Linked DNA regions of Homo sapiens: all the other regions are linked to region 2. Evidence: promoter capture Hi-C in human tissues and cell types (Jung and others, 2019). All regions are on one chromosome and are shown on one strand. The core of a region is centred on a gene start or on the middle of the fragment in contact, and the rest is flanking DNA. Distances in the headings are between cores, read along the strand shown. Region 1 has its middle 89 kb from the start of DLEU1-AS1. Region 2 holds the start of KCNRG (potassium channel regulator). Region 3 has its middle 130 kb from the start of DLEU7-AS1.

Region 1 (2,729 bases), core at 18-2,517, 600 kb after region 2:
AAGGAAAATCAGCCAGGTGTGGTGGCACATGCCTGTAGTGCCATCAGGGAGCTACTCAGGGGACTGAGGGAGGAGATTCCTTGAGCCCAGGAGTTTGAGGCTGCAGTGAGCTAATGGCACCACTGCATTCCAGCCTGGGCAACAGCGCAAGACCCTGTCTCTGAAACAAACAAATAAATAAATACACGTCTTCTTAGAGTTGGTTTGCTTGAATCATGTTTCTTGTTTTAAAGTTTCATTTCTCTTCTCCTTTCTCTCTCTCCCTTCTGTCTTCTACAAATATTTACCGTATCTTTCAAAGATACATATGGGAGCTGGGTGCAGTGGCTCATGCCTATAATCCCAGCACTTTGGGAGGCTGAGGCAGGAAGATCGCTTGAGCTCAGGAGTTTGAGACCAGCCTGAGCGACGTAGTGAAACCTCATCTCTACTGAAAACCTAATAAATTAGCTAGATGTGATGGTGCCTGCTTGTAGTCCTAGCTACTTGGGAGATGGAGGCAGGAGGATTGCTTGAGCCTAAGAGCTCAAGACTGCCGTGAGCTATGATCACACCACTGCACTCCAGCCCGGGTGACAGAGGGAGACCCTGTCTTTAAAAAAATACATATGGCATGGTAAAACGAGTTAATTCCAAAGTAAATGAGAAAATATGGCAAAAGGTGAGTACAAGAAGAAAACACAGATGGAGCCAAGATTGTGGTGAGGACACAAAGGCCAGCTATAAAATTGCATGTCCCTTTTCCCTAGAAGTCATGCATTTCCTTCTGAGCTTCCTAGCAGGAACTACAAAGAGGGCCCATGTGCACCTGTGGGACTCAGAGTTGATAACACACCATAAAACTGCTCAGGAGCAGCACAACCTGAGAGATATTTTCCCGTGGATCCTGACAAAGGAAACACTGAGTAATTGACCATACCATGTTCTCCATGGTAGCCTTGAACTCTAAGAAAATAAGTTTCATAAGGACATTTTAAAAAATCATTCTGAGTATTTTAATGTTACTTCTGTTAATCAAGTATGATTAACATGAATATTTCTTAGCATGAATATTTCTTAGAGTTCAGTCATGAATCCATGCCATTTCCTGTAGCAGCTGTTGGCTGATCTTACCTAGAGAAGCTCTCCAGCTCACCCAGTCCAGTCGGACTCTCCTGAATCACCCTGCCATGCTGATCCTCCTAAGGGACCACTTTAAGCCCATTGCTCCCTTGCTCAAGGATCTTCAATAGCTCCCTATTGACTACTCTAGGGTCAAGTGCAAGTTTCTCTGCTGCAGTGATGCCTTTCACCTCATAAAGAAAGTTTTGTTCAAGAGTAACAAAAGCTTCAGAGAGACAGAAGAAAATAAGATCTTAGAAATGCCTGTGTATTTAGTGACTAGAAGATTATGGAGTAATCTTCAAGAGAGGAGTTTCTAAAAATGAGTGGGGGAAAACTAGACTTAAATTTAGTGCCATTCTATTTAGTACTTGAATGCTCTTTGCTTGTTTTATGTGGGCTTTAGTTTTGTGATTCCACTGCCTGGGTTCCAGTCTTCGGCATGCTATTATTACAACTTTGGACAAATTACCTAAGCTTACTGTGACTCAGTTTCTTCATCTGTAAAATGGGGATAATGTAATAGAACCTCTCTAGGAGGCACTGTTGAGGAGACTGAGTGAGGCACACATAGGAAGTGCTCTGTAAGAGTTAGCTGTGCATCCTCCCGGCATGAGGTCATTGCCTCTTTGCAACAAGCACAGCAATTCTTCATGTTGACTAAAGCCTGAGTCTCTTTTATTTTCAAAATATATTCTCCCACCACTTCTCAATATTATCTCTGAAAAGAATATTTTAAAAGAGTAATGCACAAGAAACAGTTGTTCACTTTAGTTCTTTCATCTTAAAAACTATAGGAACAATAGGCCAAGAGAGAATTACAACTCAATTTAACAAAAATCTTATAATAACACATACACAATTATAAACTTTAAAAGGTTTGGGGGCTCATTGACTCTTCTGAGGCATCCTTTGTTCAGTGATACTGAACAGTGAGGAACTTTTTCTGAAGTGGCCGCCTGGCTTGTTTTGAGGTGAAGTAAGAAGGTGTGATGAAGATCCCAGCTCACACCAGCAGATGACTGCTGCTGTTTCAGGGCTCTCTGATACTGTCTCAGCTATGGAGATGGCACTTTTTGGACCACACCAAAGATTCTCAAACTTTATTGTCTAAAACTCCATTTGCATTCAGCCAAGACCCATGTTTCCATGAGATCATCTCTCATTAGATCACATTATTTATGAAATCCACTTTTAGAAGAAATGGATCCAGAAGCATTTCTTGGCCACATCAGGGTCTTCAGTCGAGTGGCAGAGTCAAGACATCTGGCCTCACTCTTCCCTGTGAAACTGGCTGAAAACAACTAAAATACCTTTTGAAAATTAGAAATGAAAATATACATCAAACTTGAAAATAGCCCAGCTCCTGGTAAGTGCAGTCGGGTCAAACTTGGTTAAGGGAGGCGGCTGGAAGCAGATCCGTGCCTCTGCAGAGCTCAGGTAACATGGAGCCTGCCGGAAGTAGGCCTGTCATTCAAAGGAGGGAAGCTATTATCCTTGTGGAACAGCCAGGTTTGAGTGGGAAGGTGAGCTTTGGGGACATCCCTGAGCCTTGTGAGAGGATACAGAGCTGAATGAAGAAAGATAAAGACATGCCATCTTTGCTAAAAGGCAGCAGGGATGGGCAG
Region 2 (2,736 bases), core at 74-2,573:
GATCAACTAGAAATGTTAAGTGGCTATGCAAGCAAAAGCATAGATAGGTTAAAAAAAAGGATCAGCTGGCTGGGCAGGGTGGCTCATGTCTATAATCTCAGCATTCTAGGACAGTGATGTGGGAGGATTATTTGAGGCTAGGAGTTCCAGTTCGAAACCAGCTTCGTAAACATAGCAAGACCCAGTCTCTACCAAAAAAAAAAAAAAAAAAAAAAAAAAAAAAAATATATATATATATATACACACACACACACACATATGTACACATACATATATATACATATATATGTATATATAGAACACATGGCAAGAGCAGGAAATGGGAAGACTACCTTTTTTCTGGCAGCTATGTGTTGTTTTGTTCGAAAGATGGCAAGTGTACAACCAAACCAATCCACTTGCTTACAGAAAGAATGTTTAGTGTAGTTAAGACTAATTTGACAACAGATAAAACAGTCTGTCAGCTATTACAAAGTAATCAGCTGAACACTAATGCTGTTCTGTCTGCTCACAAGAGATAAAGATACCCTCTCATGGAATAAACACCTTGCTTAGAATTCATATAACAAAGAAGTAACCTTATAACTGCTCTCTAGTCTGCCTTATTTGTGTCATAGAGTAAGATATTCCTTGAAAGCCCATTAAGTGGAATAGACTTTCTGAAAATAAGAGTTCTTTACCTCAGTCCTCCTCTAATTTGGTTGAGAGGAGGTAATGAAAATGGGGACAGGATAAAAGGTGGCAACTAAATTTAAAGCACAGAAGAAATGATTTCCTTCTAGCTATGAGAATAGTCAAATTGAGCTTGCCAGGCTGTCTCATTCCTAACATGTAATTCATGATTTAGCCACTAAATTTCTAAGGAGATCATAAGAAATTAAGAAAAACGTTTAAGTCTAGCCTCTGCGTGGTAGACAGGTATGGGGAGGGAGAATGCTTTTCCCCTCCCAGTAATAAAAAAAAAAAAAAAAAAAATATATATATATATATATATATATATATATATATATATATATATATATATATATATAGTTTTACTAGGTTTTCATGGATAAGTTTTTAAATGTAAGACAGGAAAGGGATCTATTTGATGTCTATCTTCAGATATATTGGCAGTTTTCCTTAAGCTATTTAGTTCCTCATCTGTTGCTTTTTCATTTTGTATACTGCAAGTTCCCAGGCAACTCGAATTTGCAAACACAGCCATGGATACACTATTTACCTTACAGTAGTTTCCTGGGAATCTAAGTCTGGTTTTTGTTATTCTTCCCTCCCCTCCACTGCATAATCATGTATAACTAGCAACATTTATGGTTATAGGTTGATTTCCTAAGTGTGGCTGATGGTAGCCTCTAGTTTGAAGTGAGGGAAGAATGAGTAGTCAGGAACTGGTCACTTTGAATGTGGGAGGGAAGATATTCACGACAAGGTTTTCTACGATAAAGCAGTTTCCTGCTTCTCGTTTGGCACGCATGTTAGATGGCAGAGACCAAGAATTCAAGATGGTTGGTGGCCAGATTTTTGTAGACAGAGATGGTGATTTGTTTAGTTTCATCTTAGATTTTTTGAGAACTCACCAGCTTTTATTACCCACTGAATTTTCAGACTATCTTAGGCTTCAGAGAGAGGCTCTTTTCTATGAACTTCGTTCTCTAGTTGATCTCTTAAACCCATACCTGCTACAGCCAAGACCTGCTCTTGTGGAGGTACATTTCCTAAGCCGGAACACTCAAGCTTTTTTCAGGGTGTTTGGCTCTTGCAGCAAAACAATTGAGATGCTAACAGGGAGGATTACAGTGTTTACAGAACAACCTTCAGCGCCGACCTGGAATGGTAACTTTTTCCCTCCTCAGATGACCTTACTTCCACTGCCTCCACAAAGACCTTCTTACCATGACCTGGTTTTCCAGTGTGGTTCTGACAGCACTACTGATAACCAAACTGGAGTCAGGTATTTTGTACTTTGCAGTATTTCTCTTGTATACCAGTTTGTGATGTTTTCTCTAAAAACTTGAAGTTCCTCAGGCCTGTAACTTCTGGAAAAGATGATTATTCAAAATAATGTTTTGGGGTAACCAGTGGAGTTGGGTAGAATGACCAAATAATTATTTTCCAAACTGGGATACTTTTTAGAGTGAAAGGGGCTATTATTAGGTGGGACAAAAGGAATAAATGAAGACTGCCCAGAAAAAACTGAGACTATGGACATTCAAATCATGGGAGAAAATAATTTTGTAGATTATGTTCCATTGCTAATGAATTTGACTTAGAAAAGAATTGCCTTATTTTTAAGAGATTGTTTCAGTGGTTCACATAAAGGCTCGCTCACTGGTTTCTCTTGAGTTCCTTACACACTATATAAGTTGTTCTTTCAGTTTTATGATTCAACTACTGTTTTTCCTTCAGCTGACTTTATTTTTAAACACCCTTAAAGACAGATATATCTCATGGCAAATTTGGTATCCTGTTACAGCCTTGGCTCTTAAACAACTCAAAATATTGGGATAGGCTGTCAGTATGTTAAGGATAGTTGCTCCTGAGTCAATTCTTCACTTACTCCCTCTGTTGTTCTTGGCTGGATCCTAACGCTGATTTCCACTCTGCTGTCACAAACATTTTTCCCCCCGTAAAATGTCTTAATGCTGTCCTACCATTATTTTACCAACTGTGAAAGCTGGCTTTAATTTTTAGGAGGAAAAGAAAAGCCTGCATGTGTTCTTTATTGGTATCATTTAA
Region 3 (2,809 bases), core at 67-2,566, 660 kb after region 2:
AAATATTAGAATTAAAATTCTGCCCCTGTTGATTTCTAATCAGATAGACTGTAAGTGGCCTGAACATTTCAAGCCTCAGTTTCCTTATTCACAAATGAGAGGAACTTTATGAGATTTAGTTGAAAATCAAATAGTGACAAATGAAAGCACAACAGGATGCTTAATAGCTGTGAAGGGCAGTGCACATGAAAGGGTCATCATCAACGCCCAGCTTGTGGCTGACCACTCCTCAGGGGCCAGCTCTTTCCCATGAAAAACCAAGGAGTCCTTGTACTGATTTTTTAAAATTTATGAAACATGAGCTCATTGGGAAATCTTGAACAAACAGAAGCTTTCCCACTCTTTTAATTCAAAACATTTCTAAAATATTCATTTGGCCCATTTTCTGGCCTTATTAAGTTAAACATAAGGGACAGAACAGAGTATTGATTTCAGCACTTTCAGGAGTTCCAGGCTTGCTGATCAACACCAGAGACAGGAACAGGGAAGAGGAGGTTGCACTGGGAAGGAGGCAGAGAAGACACTCGGGTCCAGGGAGACCAAGACACATCCTGTAGACTCATCATGTGTCTGTGCACACCCAGTTAGGACGGCGCTGAGTGCCCAATCCCTTCAAGCCTGCTCCTCTCCTAGTTCTCTCTGATTCAGTCAATGGCAGTTCCCTCTTCCGATAGCTCCAGTGAAGGCCTCGGGAGCCCTCCTGGGCTCTTCTGTCACACCCTTCACGTTTGCTTCATCAGCACAGTCTTGGGCTTTACGTTGATGTCAAACTGAGAATCCCACTACTCCTCTCCACTTCACTGCCCCACTCCATCCAAGCTGCCATCCTTTCTCCATGGATTGGTTCAATAGCCTCAAAATGGATCTCCTTACTCTGCCCCCAACCTTCCCATTCCTCTTGAGTTTATTCTCAACAGGGTACCGAGAGCGATCCTGCTGAAGTGTGTATCAGATCAAGTCAGTCCTCTGTTCAAACTCTCCAAGAGCTTCCCCACTTTAGAAGCAAAAATCCTTACGATGATCTGCAAGATTCTCCACACTGCGGCCCCTTGTTTTTTCTGTGCCTCGCCTTAATCCCCTCCCCTACCCCTGGCCTCTCTTAACTCTTTTCTGGCCTCTTCACTGTTCCTTAAACGTACAAGGTAACCTGTTGCCTCGGGGCCTTTGCAGTTGCTGTTCTCTTTCTTGGAATGTTCTTCCCCCAGACACCTGCAAGGCTGGCTCCCTCATCATCTCCTTTCGGTCTGGATTCAAATGTTACTTTCTCAGTGAAGCCTTTCTTGACCACATGGCCTAAAATAGTAACCTGCTCTCCACTCTCGCTCTTCCACATATTCTTTCTATAACTGTTTTCTGCTTCATTTGTTATTAGCATTTAGGATTATCTGATATGCTATATATTTGACTTATTGTTTTATTTTTCTTCCCTATAAAAATATAAGCTCTATGAGAGTAGGAAGCTTACATTTTGTCCAGGACAGTGCCTAACACAAAGTAAGTACTTAATAAACAATTTTTAACAGATGAATGATTGAAATGACTAAACAAAAATAAAAACCCTGACCACAGTTTTTCTTTTTTCTTTTTTTGGAGACAGTATCTCACTCTGTTACCTAAGCTAGAGTGCAATCATAGCTCATTGCAGCCTTGATTCCTGAGGCTCCTGTGATTCCTGCCCCCACCTCAGCCTCCAAAGTTGCTGGGGCTACAGGCATGCACCACCACACCTGGCTAACTTTTATGTAGAGATGTAGTCTCACTGTGTTACCCATACTGATTTCAAATCCTGGCCTCAAGCAATCCTCCAGCCTCGACCTCCCAAACTGCTGGGATTACAGGCATGAGCCACCACGGGCCCTTGACTACAGTAGTTTAAACAGAGAATAGAAATTTAACACAACTAGAAGTTTCAGATTAGGCAGTCTAGGGCTCTACAACGATGCCATCAGAGGCCCAGTTTTTTTTTTTTTGTTTCAGTTTTTTCATTTCATCATACTTAAGTAAGTTTTTGCCTCATGACTGCAAAATGGCTGCTGCCCCACCAGACAACACATGATCTTTCCAAAGCAGAGGGAAGAAATGGAATGCAAAATAGGAAATGGCAGCATTTGTATTAGGAAAGCAAAAGCTTTCCCAGAAACTCTCAACTTATATCTCATTAATCAGAACCTTTTGGCATGGCTACCCCTTGCTATAACACTAAACAAAAACTGAATTTTGTTAGTGAGGAATGGACACAGGGCAGGTGGTTCCCAGTATGTGTCATAGAGCATAAGTCTCTGTCACCCTTCAACTTCAGCTCATGCTTCTCTGCTTGGGATAAGGAGGAGCTTATGAGACCCCAAGTCAAGGGAATGAGTTTGGGGAAGCCTTAGATGTAACCGTTGCTGGAGAGAAAACCTGAGTCCTGCTCTGGCAGAAGAGCTGTGGAATCGGACACCTACAACACTTTGGCAGCCATGTTCCCAGTGTAGGAATGAAGGTGACCCAGAGGATCATGAAAATGTCCAGAAAAGGCTCACGTTGTCCTAAGAGACAGTCCCAGCAGCCTTCACTTCTTTGCTTCCAGGTGTTTTGGAGGTCCCACTGCAAATTATTCTAGCTGTGGTGACAATGATGCTTTTATTGCATGCCTTGACATACAGGAGAGACACCTGAGTTTAGACTTGGCTCACTGTACCCTCTGAACCAGTGGTTCTCAACAAGGCAAGATCAGCTTGGAGATTTGACAGCTTCCACCTGCCCCCAACTACAATAACACATAGAGAGCATAGAGCGTCTCCGTGCAAACCCACTCCCTTTTGCCTCA

Evidence for each region. The method cuts DNA at HindIII sites, captures the fragments that hold promoters and counts their contacts. A contact is called where the count stands out against the background at its distance.
Region 1: a contact is called between a fragment that was not itself captured here and the fragment with the promoter of KCNRG in region 2, in 1 of the 25 tissues and cell types used here (mesenchymal stem cells).
Region 3: a contact is called between a fragment that was not itself captured here and the fragment with the promoter of KCNRG in region 2, in 4 of the 25 tissues and cell types used here (heart left ventricle, heart right ventricle, hippocampus and 1 more).

Annotation. Positions count from the first base shown.
Region 1 is chr13:50,614,630-50,617,358 of GRCh38, forward strand. No RefSeq gene overlaps it. Among named protein-coding and RNA genes, the nearest start is that of DLEU1-AS1, 89 kb to the left of the region's middle. The HindIII fragment of the contact is 3,508 bases long and covers 1-2,729 here.
Region 2 is chr13:50,014,121-50,016,856 of GRCh38, forward strand. KCNRG (potassium channel regulator) reads left to right here and starts at 1,324. Exons shown (of 2, transcript NM_173605.2): 1 at 1,324-1,951. The coding sequence starts at 1,374. TRIM13 (tripartite motif containing 13) reads left to right here. Exons shown (of 2, transcript NM_213590.3): 2 at 1-2,736. The region is part of intron 10 of DLEU2 (deleted in lymphocytic leukemia 2); the gene reads right to left. The HindIII fragment of the contact is 16,932 bases long and covers 1-2,736 here.
Region 3 is chr13:50,672,348-50,675,156 of GRCh38, forward strand. No RefSeq gene overlaps it. Among named protein-coding and RNA genes, the nearest start is that of DLEU7-AS1, 130 kb to the right of the region's middle. The HindIII fragment of the contact is 4,162 bases long and covers 1-2,809 here.